Linked DNA regions of Homo sapiens: region 2 is linked to region 1. The links are contacts of gene promoters, found by promoter capture Hi-C in human tissues and cell types (Jung and others, 2019). All regions are on one chromosome and are shown on one strand. Each heading gives the region's core, a stretch centred on a gene start or on the middle of the fragment in contact. The rest is flanking DNA. Distances are from core to core; before and after follow the strand shown.

What was found. The method cuts DNA at HindIII sites, captures the fragments that hold promoters and counts their contacts. A contact is called where the count stands out against the background at its distance.
Region 2: the fragment with the promoter of HSD11B1L here is called in contact with the fragment with the promoter of PRR22 in region 1 in 1 of the 25 tissues and cell types used here (adrenal gland).

Annotation. Positions count from the first base shown.
Region 1 is chr19:5,780,454-5,786,692 of GRCh38, reverse strand. It overlaps PRR22 (proline rich 22), which reads left to right and starts at 1,947. Exons shown (of 3, transcript NM_001134316.2): 1 at 1,947-2,162; 2 at 2,254-2,316; 3 at 2,640-3,733. The coding sequence starts at 2,033. The coding sequence ends at 3,715. It overlaps DUS3L (dihydrouridine synthase 3 like), which reads left to right. Exons shown (of 13, transcript NM_020175.3): 10 at 151-226; 11 at 902-1,090; 12 at 1,182-1,310; 13 at 1,418-1,553. The coding sequence ends at 1,490. RefSeq lists a silencer at 5,783-5,961. The HindIII fragment of the contact is 36,623 bases long and covers 1-6,239 here.
Region 2 is chr19:5,677,261-5,683,680 of GRCh38, reverse strand. HSD11B1L (hydroxysteroid 11-beta dehydrogenase 1 like) reads right to left here and starts at 2,654. Exons shown (of 8, transcript NM_198706.3): 1 at 2,410-2,654. It overlaps MICOS13 (mitochondrial contact site and cristae organizing system subunit 13), which reads left to right and starts at 3,165. Exons shown (of 4, transcript NM_205767.3): 1 at 3,165-3,223; 2 at 3,918-4,095; 3 at 4,285-4,336; 4 at 5,033-5,259. The coding sequence starts at 3,195. The coding sequence ends at 5,130. LOC107985320 (a long non-coding RNA gene) reads right to left here. Exons shown (of 3, transcript XR_007067107.1): 3 at 5,352-6,420. RefSeq lists a silencer at 2,477-2,686 and enhancers at 2,737-3,206, 3,217-3,316, 3,337-3,416, 3,447-3,556, 3,937-4,076. The HindIII fragment of the contact is 40,206 bases long and covers 1-6,420 here.

The DNA of each region.
Region 1 (6,239 bases), core at 698-3,197:
TCTGGGCTGTTCGCCTTCCCACTTGGGACCCCCTCGTACCACCCTGATGGGAGCCACTGGGTCAGCCAAAACTCCTGAAGGGCTGGTGAGCAGAACTCCAGGGTCCCACCTGCCCATGTCTCCCTGAGACCCCAGCCTCTGTCTCCTCAGGAAATGGGGACATCTTGTCATTTGAGGATGCCAACCGCGCCATGCAGACTGGTGTCACCGGGATCATGATTGCCCGGTAAGTGCCCAGGGATGTTAGAGATCCAGCTTCATGCACAGCAGCAGTGCCCTGAACCCAACACGCCGTCACCCACCCCTGTTCTGTGGTGGGCTGTTGGTCCCAAGATGGGAGGAGCAGAGAGCGATGTCAGGAGTTGCAGCTGCGTTGCGGCAGAGGGGACTGGAAATTGCTGCTGCTGTGGGATCTGATGATTGTGGGTTGAAAGTCCTGGGCTTTGGCCAGGTGTGTGGCTCACGCCTGTAATCCCAGCACTTTGGGAGGCCAAGGCACGCCGATCATTTGAGGTCGGAGGTTCAAGACTAGCCTGACCAACATGGTGAAACATCTCTATTAAAAATACAAAAATTAGCCAGGTGTAGTGGTACACGCCTGTAATCCCAACTACTAGGGAGGCTGAGGCAGGACAATTGCCTGAACCTGGGAGACGGAGGTTGAACAGTGAGCCGAGATCTTACCACTGCACCCCAGCCTGGGCGACAGAGCCAGACTCCGTCTCAGAAAAAACAAAAGAAAGTCCTGTGCTTTGAAGGTTGTGTGCATGCAGCTGGGAGGCTTACTAGGCTTGTAGGTTTTGTGGTCTGGGCTCCGGCTCAGGCCAGGCCATGGAAGCAGAGGCCACACGATCCCAGGCAGGCTGGTGGCTGGGCCCACTGATCGTCACCCGTCCCACAGTGGCGCCCTGCTCAAGCCGTGGCTCTTCACGGAGATCAAGGAGCAGCGGCACTGGGACATCTCGTCGTCCGAGCGCCTGGACATCCTGCGGGACTTCACCAACTACGGCCTGGAGCACTGGGGCTCGGACACGCAGGGCGTGGAGAAGACCCGGCGCTTTCTGCTCGAGTGGCTGTCCTTCCTGTGCCGGTGGGCACCGGGGCTGGCTGGGGTGGGCGGCGCGTGGGCCGCGGCTGGTTAGAGCTGACTCAAGCCTGTCCTGCCCGCCCACCCGCCGCAGGTACGTGCCCGTGGGGCTGCTGGAGCGGCTCCCACAGAGGATCAACGAGCGGCCGCCCTACTACCTGGGCCGCGACTACCTGGAGACGCTGATGGCCAGCCAGAAGGCAGCCGACTGGATCCGCATCAGGTGCCTGGGTGGGCTGGAGTTGGGGAGCTGCAGTCGGGGGCCCGGGGTCACGGAGGGTACTTTGCAGGTCCTGGGCCTGACCTCGCTTTCCACCTGCTCTCCCACAGCGAGATGCTCCTTGGGCCAGTGCCCCCCAGCTTCGCCTTCTTGCCGAAGCACAAGGCCAACGCGTACAAGTAGCCTCAGGCTTTCCCAGGGGCACCCTGGGGCGAGGAGAGTACAATAAATTTTATTCTTTTAAAATCCAGGCCTTTCTGTGACCCTGAAGCAGCCCCTCCTCGGCCCCCACCTTCCCCAAACCTCTTAGCTGCCTCCATGGGCCCTGCCCCAAGCTGGGTGCTGCTGGTGCCCAGAGAGGCCTTGACCCCCAAGAAGGTAGCGGGTTGAGGACCCGGGGGGCCTCAGCCTGTGTGGGTGTGGATCAGGGCAGCCTGCCTGGAGGAGGCGGCCTCAAAGCTGTTAGGGGGGTGTTGCTGGAAGAGGCAAAGGCCTGGCCCAGAATCCTCCCTCCCATGGTGATGACCATGTCTGCCAACGTCTGCCCCTGCTTGCCCCCAACACCCAGAACCCCAACCAGTGGGCGCGCTGCAGGCTGGAACCCGCTGCCCCGAGTAACCAGGCAAACAGAACCCCACCAGGTTCTCAGCCTGTTCTCCGGTTGGGCCACTTGCACTCCCACTGCCGCCCTCCTGGCCTGTCTGGACCGGGCCCCCCGCTGCCCCATGCAGCACCCCAAACCGTTCTGTGCCCCTGCAGCTCCCCAGGAAGGTTTCAGCCCGCAGAGTCTGGAGGGGGCTGAGGTGCTGGGCAACCAGCCTGCTCCCACCTGTGCCGAGCCTCCTCCCGCTATGGGTACGATCGGGTGGGTGGGAGCACCTGCTGGAGAGGGTTCAGGGGCCCACCCGCCTAAGGGCCCTACCCACCTGGGCACCTTTGTCCACAGGCTCCTTGAACCTGTATCATCCCCCAGACCCAGAGAAAGAGGTGTTTCCAGCCCCACCAGCAGGTACCGGCCTCCCCTGAGCCCTTGACGAGGCTGGGAGTGGGTTTGAGTGTGCAGGCCCATCTTGCCCCTGCCCCGTCCCTAAGTGGGAGCCTGAAGGCATGGCCTCTGCTCCCCATGCTTCACACAGGTCCCCCAGATGAGCCCCAAAGACAAGCTCTGTGTCATCCATCACCCAGCCAGGGCCCCAAAGCAATATCTATGTCGTCCCCCAAAGGGGCCCCCCAATGGCAAGGTTCTTGTGGCATCTCCCAAACAGGCCCCCAGGCTTGGGCTGGGCCCCTCAGGCAGCAGCTGCTCTCAGGGCACCCGCCTGCCGCCCACAGGTTTCCAGATGGCCCCATGCGGGTGCTTCTTCGACCCCCGCATCTATCGGATCGAGTGGACCACCCCCGACCTGGGCCAGTCAGCCCTGTATAAGCTGGCAGCAAGCAGCGGGGGGCCAGCGGGGGTCCCCTCCGCCCCAGGCAGCTACCTCCTGGAGCCTCAGCCCTACCTCAAGGCCCCGGGGCTGCCTCCATACCCCCACTACCAGCAGGCACCCGGGGGGCCCCAGTTTCTCTTGCCCTACTTCCCGCCTGAGGGCCCCGGGCCAGAGGCTCTGGGTTTTGTGGGGGACGCAGGGCCCGCCGCCTTCGTGGAGCTGCCCCTACCGCCCCTAGAGGAAGGCCCGGCCCCGCTGCCACCCCCACCCCCCAAGGAGAACAAGCCGCCCCCTGTACTCATCACGCTGCCTGCAGAGCCCACACTGCCCCCAGACGCCTACAGCCACCTCCAGGGTCACCTCGGCCACTTCCCTGGGCCCGAACCCCTGGCCTTCCCCGTCAAGGAGCTGCAGGGCAGTGGGGCCCGACCTGGGGTGCCCCTGTACCCACCGGGCCTCAGCGAGCTCAAGGTGGCCGAGGTCAAGGAGGGGGCCCTGCTGGGAGCAGGCAAGGCCAAGGCCCCCAAGACGGCCAGAGCTTTGGCACTGCCTGACAAGGTTCTGCTGGAGGACGCCATGAAGCTCTTCGACTGCCTGCCAGGCGCCTCTGAGCCTGAGGGTACCCTGTGCGAGGTCCCTGGGCCGGCCCTGCCTGACAGCAGTGGTGGGAACTCAGCCGATGACATCCGCTCGCTGTGCCTGCCCGAGGAGCTGCTGTCCTTTGACTACAGCGTGCCTGAGATCCTGGACACCGTGTCCAACGTTGACTACTTCTTCAACTTCAAGGCGCTCGACGAGGAGCAGCCGCCCCACCCGGGGCCCCCTGCCACCAACACCCCGGCCCCCATTCTGTCTGGCAAGAGAAAGGCCTCGACGGCCAAGAAGGGAAAGCCGGGAAGGAAGGCCAGGCAGCCGGCAGGCCCAGCCAGCGCCACTCCCCCGGGGCCCAGGGAGGACCTGGGAGCCACCCCGCATTAAAGCACATTTGACCTTTCAGCTCCATGTCCACGTGGGGGCCTTGGGGATGGGGAGGGGGCTGGAGATGCACGCCTGGCCCCTCACCCCATCATCCCGCGGACTGGCAAGGCAGCGCCCCCGGCCTCACAGTGAGGCCTCTTAGCAGGGGAGCCCCGGAATCACAGGACACCCTAAACTCCTTGAGTCCCAGCCCTGGAACATCAGACTCCTCTGGCAGAGGCAGGGGCCTCCTGGGGCACGAGGGAGCTGACCCCCAGACTCAACGCGTTCTAAGGGTTTTCACCCCTTTGTTTGGTGGGGGAAAGCAAGGCTGCCCAGAGCAGCAGGAACTTCCTTGGAGACACACAGCCATCAGGGCAGGGCTTGAGGAGCATCCTCCAGATCCCCACCCAGCTGCCTCCTGTCCCCAGGAAGCCACAGCCACTGCAGGCAGGGCGGGAAGGGCCACGCTCTTGTTCAGACAGACAGGTGGGTGCAGGGGCTTCACCTGATGGTCTGAGGGTGGGGGCTGGGGCAGGGATGAGACAGTGCCCACGCGTGAAGGGGTGGGGAGCACACGGCACCCAGGGGGCCTGGCATGTGCACCCAAGATGGAGACAGGAGACAGCACCTGGAGCCCAGGAGAGGGTCAGGGGCCCCACCCGGCCACACTTCGGGGTCCGGGGTGGCAGGGACAGCCTGGCTACTCGTTCCAAAATGGGATGGGCCCAGCCTCGGAAGAACGACCTCCGGGTGCTGGTTCCCGTCACTGCTTACCCACATCAGGGTCTCGAGAGCCCTCCTGGGGGTCCAGGCAGTGGCCACCTGTACCCTCCTCCCCTGAAACGCTCATGGTGGCCCTGGAGAGGCTGACCCCATTCCCCCAGGGACACATAAGGAAACAGGAGGTCGAGTGCCATCCAGCGCCTCCTGGGATGAGGACACCCCTCTGGGATGGGAACCTTCAGCCTACCCCTTCCCCAGGCTGCGGGCTGGATCTCCTGGGTCTCCGGAGTTTGGGTTTCAAGGCCTCTGCTTGGGGAGGCCCTGGGAGGCTCACCTAGAGTCCAGGAGGCTGATGGGTGTTTGGAGGCCGAGCAGAGACCATGGTCCCGGCTCTGTGTAGGGCACTGTGCCTGCTGCTCTCTGGAGCTACTCTCCCGGAAACCCTTATTCAAAAAACTCAGGAGGAGGCCAGGTGCAGTGGCAAACACCTGTAATCTCAGCACTTTGGGAGGCCGAGGCGGGCAGATCACTTGAGGTCAGGAGTTCGAGACCAGCTTGGCCAAAATGGTGAAACCCTGTCTCTACTGAAAATACAAAAATTGGCCGGGCGCAGCTTCTCACGCCTGTAATCCCAGTACTTCGGGAGGCCAAGGCAGGCAGATCACGAGATCAGGAGATTGAGACCATCCTGGCAAACACGATGAAACCCCAGCTCTACTAAAAATACAAAAAAATTAGCTGGGTGTGGTGGCGGGTGCCTGTAGTCCCAGCTACTCGGGAGGCTGAGGCAGGAGAATGGCGTGAACCCAGGAGGCGGAGCTTGCAGTGAGCCAAGATTGCACCACTGCACTCCAGCCTGGGCGACAGAGTGAGACTCCGTCTCAAAAAAAAAAAGAAAATGCAAAAATTATCTGGGTATGGTGGCAGGCGCCTGTAATCCCAGCTACTCAGGAGACTAAGGCACAAGAATTGCTTGAGCCCGGGAGGCAGAGGTTGTAGTGAGCCGAGATCACATCACTGCACTCCACCCTGGGCAATAGAGCAAGACTCCATTTCAAAAAACAAAAACAACTCCGGGTAGTGTCTCGGGGCCATGCAGCTGTGGCCCTCAAGACAGGGTCCCCCTGTCCCAGGGACTGTGCCATGTGCCCTCCTGGCATCTGCAGTGATCCCCATTCATCACTGTTTGACCCGTGGGGACACAGGCTGGGAGAGACTCCAAGTGCACTTTTGTTTTTTTGAGGCAGAGTTTCGCTCTTGTTGCCCAAGCTGGAGTGCAATGGCGTGATCTCGGCTCACTGCAACCTCCGCCTCCCGAGTTCAAGTGACTCTCCTGCCTGCCTCAGCCTCCCGAGTAGCTGGGATTACAGGTGTGCACCACCACACCTGGTTAATTGTATTTTTAGTAGAGACGGGATTTCACCATGTTGGTCAGGCTGGTCTCGATCTCCTAACCTCAGGGGATCCGCCCGCCTCAGCCTACCAAAGTGCTGGGATGACAGGCGTGAGCCACCGCGCCCAGCCCCAAGCCCACTTTTCTCAGCTGCTTTTCAACTCCTTCTCCCCGAAGCCTCATTAGGGGTATCTCTGAAACTAAAACCAGGTATCCCAAGTGTCGGGGAGGTCCTGGCTGATGAGGAAGTGGGGCAAGGACCTGGATCACTTTTCTTGAAGATTAATGTGGAGTGAGGGTCACACAGTGGATGTCTGCAAGGACCCAAGCAGTAGCTTTTTTTTTTCTTTCTGAGACAGGGTCTCGCTACGTTGCCCAGGCTGGAGTATAGCGCCGTGATCATGGCTTACTGCAGCCTCGACCTCC
Region 2 (6,420 bases), core at 1,405-3,904, 100 kb after region 1:
GGCTCAAGTGATCCTCCCGCCTCAGCCTCCCAAAGTGCTGGGATTACAGGTGTGAACCACCGTGCCCAGCCCAAGGACCATTTGTTACTCGTTCCACCATCCTTCTCTCCCTGTAGACCATCAGCTCCATAAGGGCAGGAAGGAAATGGAAATCTTCTACTTTGTTCCCTATTGGGTCTTCAGGGCCCAAAACTGTGCCAGGTACACAGTAGGTGCTCAATAGGTACCAGATTGATCATGGAGTGATATGAGGCACGTGGGAGGCGAGAGGTGAGGAAGCCAAGAGACAGCTCGCTCTCTGGAGACACCCAGAAGGCATTTGACACATGGGGCTGGGTTGGAGACAGAGGTGCCTGCGTCATCCAGATGAAGATATGATTTATGATTTCAGCTATGGGAGCTGATTCACTAATTCCAGGGAGAAGGTGAAAGAGAGAAACAGTCCAGGTTCTTTTTTTTTTTTTTTTTTTTTGAGACTGAGTTTCACTCTTGTTGCACAGGCTGGGATTACACTTTGTAATCCCAGCATTTTGGGAGGCCGAGGTGGGCGGATCACTTGAGGCTGGGAGTTCGAGACCAGCCTGACCAACATGGAGAAACCCAGTCTCTACTAAAAATACTAAATTAGCTGGGCATGCTGGCACATGCCTGTGATCCCAGCCAATGGAGCAGCTAGGACTACAAGTGGGTGCACCAGCACGCCCAACTAATCATCGTATTTTTTGTAGAGATGGGGTCTCCTGCTGAGGCAGGAGAATTGCTTGAACCCAGCGGGGTGGAGATTGCAGTGAGCTGAGATCGCCCCACTGCATTCCAGCCTGGGCAACAGAGTGAGACTCTGTCTAAAAAAAAAAAAAAAAAAAAAAAAAAGTCAATGGGACAAGGGGAAGGGGACTTCCAGAACCAGGAAGCTGAGACAGACCAGATGGAGCGGATCATTGAGGAGTCCCTAAATCTCCCATCTGTAGGTCCAGCCCTAGGTTCTTTGCCTCTGCTGTCTTCTGGGTGTCTCCTCCTGACAACCTCCAGGCCCCTTAGAACCAGCAGGACCCAATCCAGGCTCAGCATGTCACCCCATACCTGCTTCTCTTCCCAGCTCACCATCACAGAAATAGCCCCACTATCCCCTGTCCCTAAATGGGAGACCCAGGTATTGTCCTCACCTCCTTCTATCCTTTCACCCCCACGAGCTCATGGTTTTCAGATCTTATCAGTTCTCCCTCTCCAGTCTCTCCCCAGCTGTCCCTTCCTCTCTCTCTCCAGGACTCCCAGATTGTCACCTCCCTCCTAGACCCTACCCCGGGCCTGACCACCCCCATCTTTCCTTTGGCCTCCCTTCCATCTCCGATTTGGTCTCCCCCACCTCCACACTGGCTTCCCCATGTCCATACTCATTCTCTCCCTGCCTCTTCTGTCAATGCAGCCAAAGGCGTCTGTGTCAAAAGCAACATGGCCATGGCCCTTCCTGCTCCAAACCCTCTCAGGGGTCCCCACTGCAACTGATGGAAACCAGGCTCCTCACTGCACCCCATGAGGCCCTGCAGGTATAGCCCCTGACTACCTGTCTATCCTTCTCTCCCACGGCCCCATCTATGAATCGTTCAGTTCTCAAAATAATGAACTCCTCACCTTTCCCAGACACACCAGGCATGCCCACAGCAAGAAACGAGCTTCCACCTTTTCCCCTTCCAGGGACAGCCCATGAAGCTCCTCTGCTCATCCCTCTTTCCACCCCCAGCTCTACACTGACTGCAGCAGCCCGGCAGGGGGAAGTGGGACCAGATGGACTGACGGGTGGACGGATGGGTGGATGGATGAATGGATAGATGGACAGATGCATGTATGGATGCATAGATAGAAGGATGGATGGGTGGATGGCCAGATGAATAGATGGATGGGTGGATGGATGGATGATGGACGGAGAGATGTATGGGTGGATAGATGGATGAGTGGATGGATGTATGAATGGATAAATGGGAACACATAAATGGATGGATGGATGGATGGATGGATGGACGGACGGATGCATGGATGGATGGATGGATGGATGGATGGATGGACGGATAGATGAGTGGGTGGCCAGATAAATAGATGGATGGGTGGACAGATGGATGAGTGGAAGGATGGGGGGAGCAGATGGATGAATGGATGGGCGGACAGATGGATGAACGGAAGTGTGGATGGATAGATGGAAGGATAGATGGGTGGATGGCCAGATGGATAGACGGGTGGGGGACAGATGGATGGATGGGCAGATGAACGGTTGAAGCAGCCCGGCCGAAATGCGGGAGAAATGGGGGGAAGCCCTGCAGAACGCATCGGCCCCTTCTTGACCTCGGCGGGCCTTAGCTTCCCCTCTGAACAAAGCGGGCGTGTGACCCTCTGCGCACCCCTAAACCGTGCACTCACCCGCTCAGGCCTCAGTTTCCCCCACTGTCCAGCGGGGGTGGGGTCCCGGGCTGGGAGCCACGCGAACGCCCCCACGGTCCTCTCTTCTCGGCCGCCTCCTGCCGGGTCCCCGACCGCACCCCCTCCCGTAGGGCACGGGTCACGTGACTCGAAGCCCACCTCCTCCCGGGGAGGGGCCGGGCCTCGGGGACCCAGCGCCGGAGCGTCGCCGGGCAACAGTGCCCGCCTGGTCTTCGCCTCCCAGCAGGGGCCCGGCCCCGCCCACTGGGCGGACGCCCCGCCTCCGAATCGATCACGTGAGGGGGCCGCAGCGCTCGAACAATCCCGCCCTCTCGTTGCCGTGACAACCGCCTTGTAGGCACACTCTTCTTAAATCCGGGCCCTTGGTCCCCCGCGCGGGCGCGGGTGGATCTCTCGGGCTCTGACTTGTTTTCGGGTCACCTTCAGGCTTCAGCCAGGCACCTGACGCCTCTTTCCCCTCACGGTGCCAGGGCCGGGCCGAACTACATTTCCCAGGAGGCTCCGCGGCCAGGTGCAAACAGCGCCGTGCTGACTACATTTCCCAGACAGCCTTGCGGCGGCCCGGGCCTTAAAGCGTCCATTTCCCAGCGGCCCTCCGCTGCGAGACCGCAGCCCTTCTCTGGAGTCTCAGAGCCGCAAGACACCACGACTCCCAGAGGACCTTGCGTCGGGCAAGAAAGACTACACCTTCCAGAGGCCTCTGCGGCGCCGCGACAGGAAGCGGCGGGCGAGCCGAGTGTCCTTGCGCGTGGATCCGAGCGACCATGGTGGCCCGGGTGTGGTCGCTGATGAGGTGCGTGGGGGCGCCGGAGGGGACCCGAGTCCCCGAAAAAGTCCATTTTTGTGGGCATCCCTGTCTCCAGTCTGGTCCCGATCTGCTCTTCGCTTCCCTTAGAGTCACTTCCCCTTCGTTCCCCGCCTATGGGCCAGATAGGGAAACTGAGGCTTCAGAGGGGCGGGGCTTCCCGAGGTCGCCAATCCCCTCCCTCCTGCTTCCCAGCGAGCCCTTGGCGTTCAGTTCGCGGTGTCAGCCTCCGCCTCCGAGCCTCAGTTGTCTTCTCTGTGAGGTGGGAATGCCGGTGAATCCTGCCGCTGGCGTGGATGAGAAGTGAATGCGTGCTCGGAGCTGCGAGTGACAGCGGGCAGGAGGCGCCCAGGGACACTTGGTTTCTCCAGGGCTGGAAGGCTTCTAGAAGGTCAAGATCTTACGTCTTCACTGCCCCTGCTCACTGTGGGACTTTGAGTGACCCACTCTCCCCCTCTGGGTTTCAGTTCATCAGTTCAAGTGGCGTCCAGCCGCCCTGCCTTGCACGTTGTAAAACGAGTGCTGTATATAATAGGGGTCTGGGTCGACGGTGCTGCACTACAGAGTGTCACCCTGTGGACGGTGAGCCCTCAGGAGGGTCTCACTCTCCCCGTGGGCCTTGGCCCCTGAGGGTGGCTGTCAGTGTCCGCTGAGCTTCTGCTCCTCCCGTCCCTGCCCGCAGGTTCCTCATCAAGGGAAGTGTGGCTGGGGGCGCCGTCTACCTGGTGTACGACCAGGAGCTGCTGGGGCCCAGCGACAAGAGCCAGGCAGCCCTACAGAAGGCTGGGGAGGTGGTCCCCCCCGCCATGTACCAGTTCAGCCAGTACGTGTGTCAGCAGACAGGCCTGCAGATACCCCAGGTACTACGGGCCGGGAACGAGGCCAGGGTTTGGCGGGTGGTCAGCTCTGGGAGGTCCCTCCAGCCCTGCACGATGTTGTCCTCCATATTGATGCTGACCTGATTCTCCGGCCTGTCCTCCTCCCTCCGCCTCTGGGGATGGGCTGCTGAGCCTTTTCACCAGTTCTTTCTGCCCATCTCTTTTTCCCAGCTCCCAGCCCCTCCAAAGATTTACTTTCCCATCCGTGACTCCTGGAATGCAGGTAAGGCACCCAGTTTCTTTGCTTGGAGGGAGACACCCCAGTCTAGCCCCTCTCCCCACTTCCTGGCCATTCCTTTCTGTCCATCCTCCTTCCTGCCCGACACGTGTCTCTTAGGGATCTAAAAGGGAAAGGAGGCCGAGCACAGTGGCTCACGCCTGTAATCCCAGCACTTTGGGAGGCTGAGGTGGGCGGATCATCTGAAGTCAGGAGTTCGAGACCAGCCTGGGCAACATGGTGAAACCCCATCTCTACTAAAAATACAAAAATTAACCGTGCGTGGTGGTGCACACCTGTAATCCCAGCTGCTGCTTGAGAGGCTGAAGCAGGAGAATTGCTTGAACCCAGGAGGCAGAGGTTGCAGTGAGCCGAGGTTGCACCACTGCACTCCAGCCTGGGCGACAGGGCGAGACTCCATCTCAAAAAAATAAAATACAAAAATTAGCCTGGTATGGTGGCGCACTTGTAGTCCCAGCTACTTGGGAGGCTGAGGCAAGAGAATCGCTTGAACCCAGGAGGCGAAGGTTGCAGTGAGCCGAGATTGCACTACTGCACTCCAGCCTGGGAGACAGAGTGAGACTCCATCCCCGCCCCCCACCCACCCCCCACCGCCCAAAACAAACTCTAGAGTTTCCCAGGGGTTGGAGGCTGGGTGAGGCTGGGAGGGGAGTATCACCAGTGGCCGTCCCTTTCCCACAGGCATCATGACGGTGATGTCAGCTCTGTCGGTGGCCCCCTCCAAGGCCCGCGAGTACTCCAAGGAGGGCTGGGAGTATGTGAAGGCGCGCACCAAGTAGCGAGTCAGCAGGGGCCGCCTGCCCCGGCCAGAACGGGCAGGGCTGCCACTGACCTGAAGACTCCGGACTGGGACCCCACTCCGAGGGCAGCTCCCGGCCTTGCCGGCCCAATAAAGGACTTCAGAAGTGTTCCCTGACCCGTGTGCTGGCCCCAGGGAGCACAGGGTTGGCCTGGTGGTGCCCAGAGCACCGAGGCCTGGGCTTCTGGCTCCTGATGGCTTGTCAGGGCTTGACCTTGACCACAGGCCATAGCACTCCCCTTTGCCGTCTGCTCTGGTGCGGGGAGTCAGAGGTCAGAGCGGCTGCTCCCGGTGCTCCAGAGGCTGTGCTCTGGGGCCAGGAAAGTGCTTTGGCCAAGCCTGGGTTGTGGAGGGTCTTGGTTTTGGAGGGCTGAGACCAGGGTAGGACAGTGGAAGAGCCAGAGTGGATAGAAGTGGGGTCTGCTTCCCTGCGGGACACAGGGCAGGAGCCCCCAGGGCCACTGGTTCCTGCCCTCCTCAGCTCCTGTCCGCAGTCCTGTCCCGGCCCTTCCTTGGCCGGACTCCACCCTCATTCCACCCTCTCCCGACAACCCTAGCAGGGGAATCCTGGTCATTGAAGGAAATCCAGGTGTTTGTTGCCATTCAGAGGGTCTCCCGGACATTGCCTCTCCCCTGGGACGCCTTCCCTGACACCCCTGCCGCACACTGGCCAGGCTACCTGGCAGCCTGCATGGTTCCCCCGCATCAGGCATGAGCCCTGGGAGGCTCCCAGCACCCAGCCACAGAGGGCGATCCACGGGGTTGGGTGATGGCAAGAGGCCTGTGCCCAGAAACCAGTCTGGTGGCTCCAGACACATGGGGGTGGTGGGGAGCTTGGGTGGGGCCAGAGGCCTCCGTAGGATGCTGCCCTGGGAGCAGGGAGCAGACAGGTGATGCTCACCGAGCTGGGACAGGGTCCCCGTTCCCATGAGTTCAGGGGTTTATGTTGCTTGGTATAGGGAACTGAGCTTAGGAGGGGACAGCTGTTACAGAGGAGAGGAGCAGAGACTAGAGGCCGGGGCATCTCCCCCACTGTCCCACTCAGAGAGGAGAAGCCACTGGCCTGAGCAGGGCGTAGGAGGGGTGTGGCTGGGAGCAGCGGCCTAGTCTGGTAGAAGGGGAGTCCACAGGGCCTGCCCACCCCATTCCCCCCAGGAGCGTGGTCCCGGGACAGGTCCCCCACATCTGATATGCCCCTGTCCTTACTGGGCCTTAGCAGTGGTGGGGGCAGGTCTAGGGTGAGGGAGGGATGAGCAGGGCAGGGGAGCAT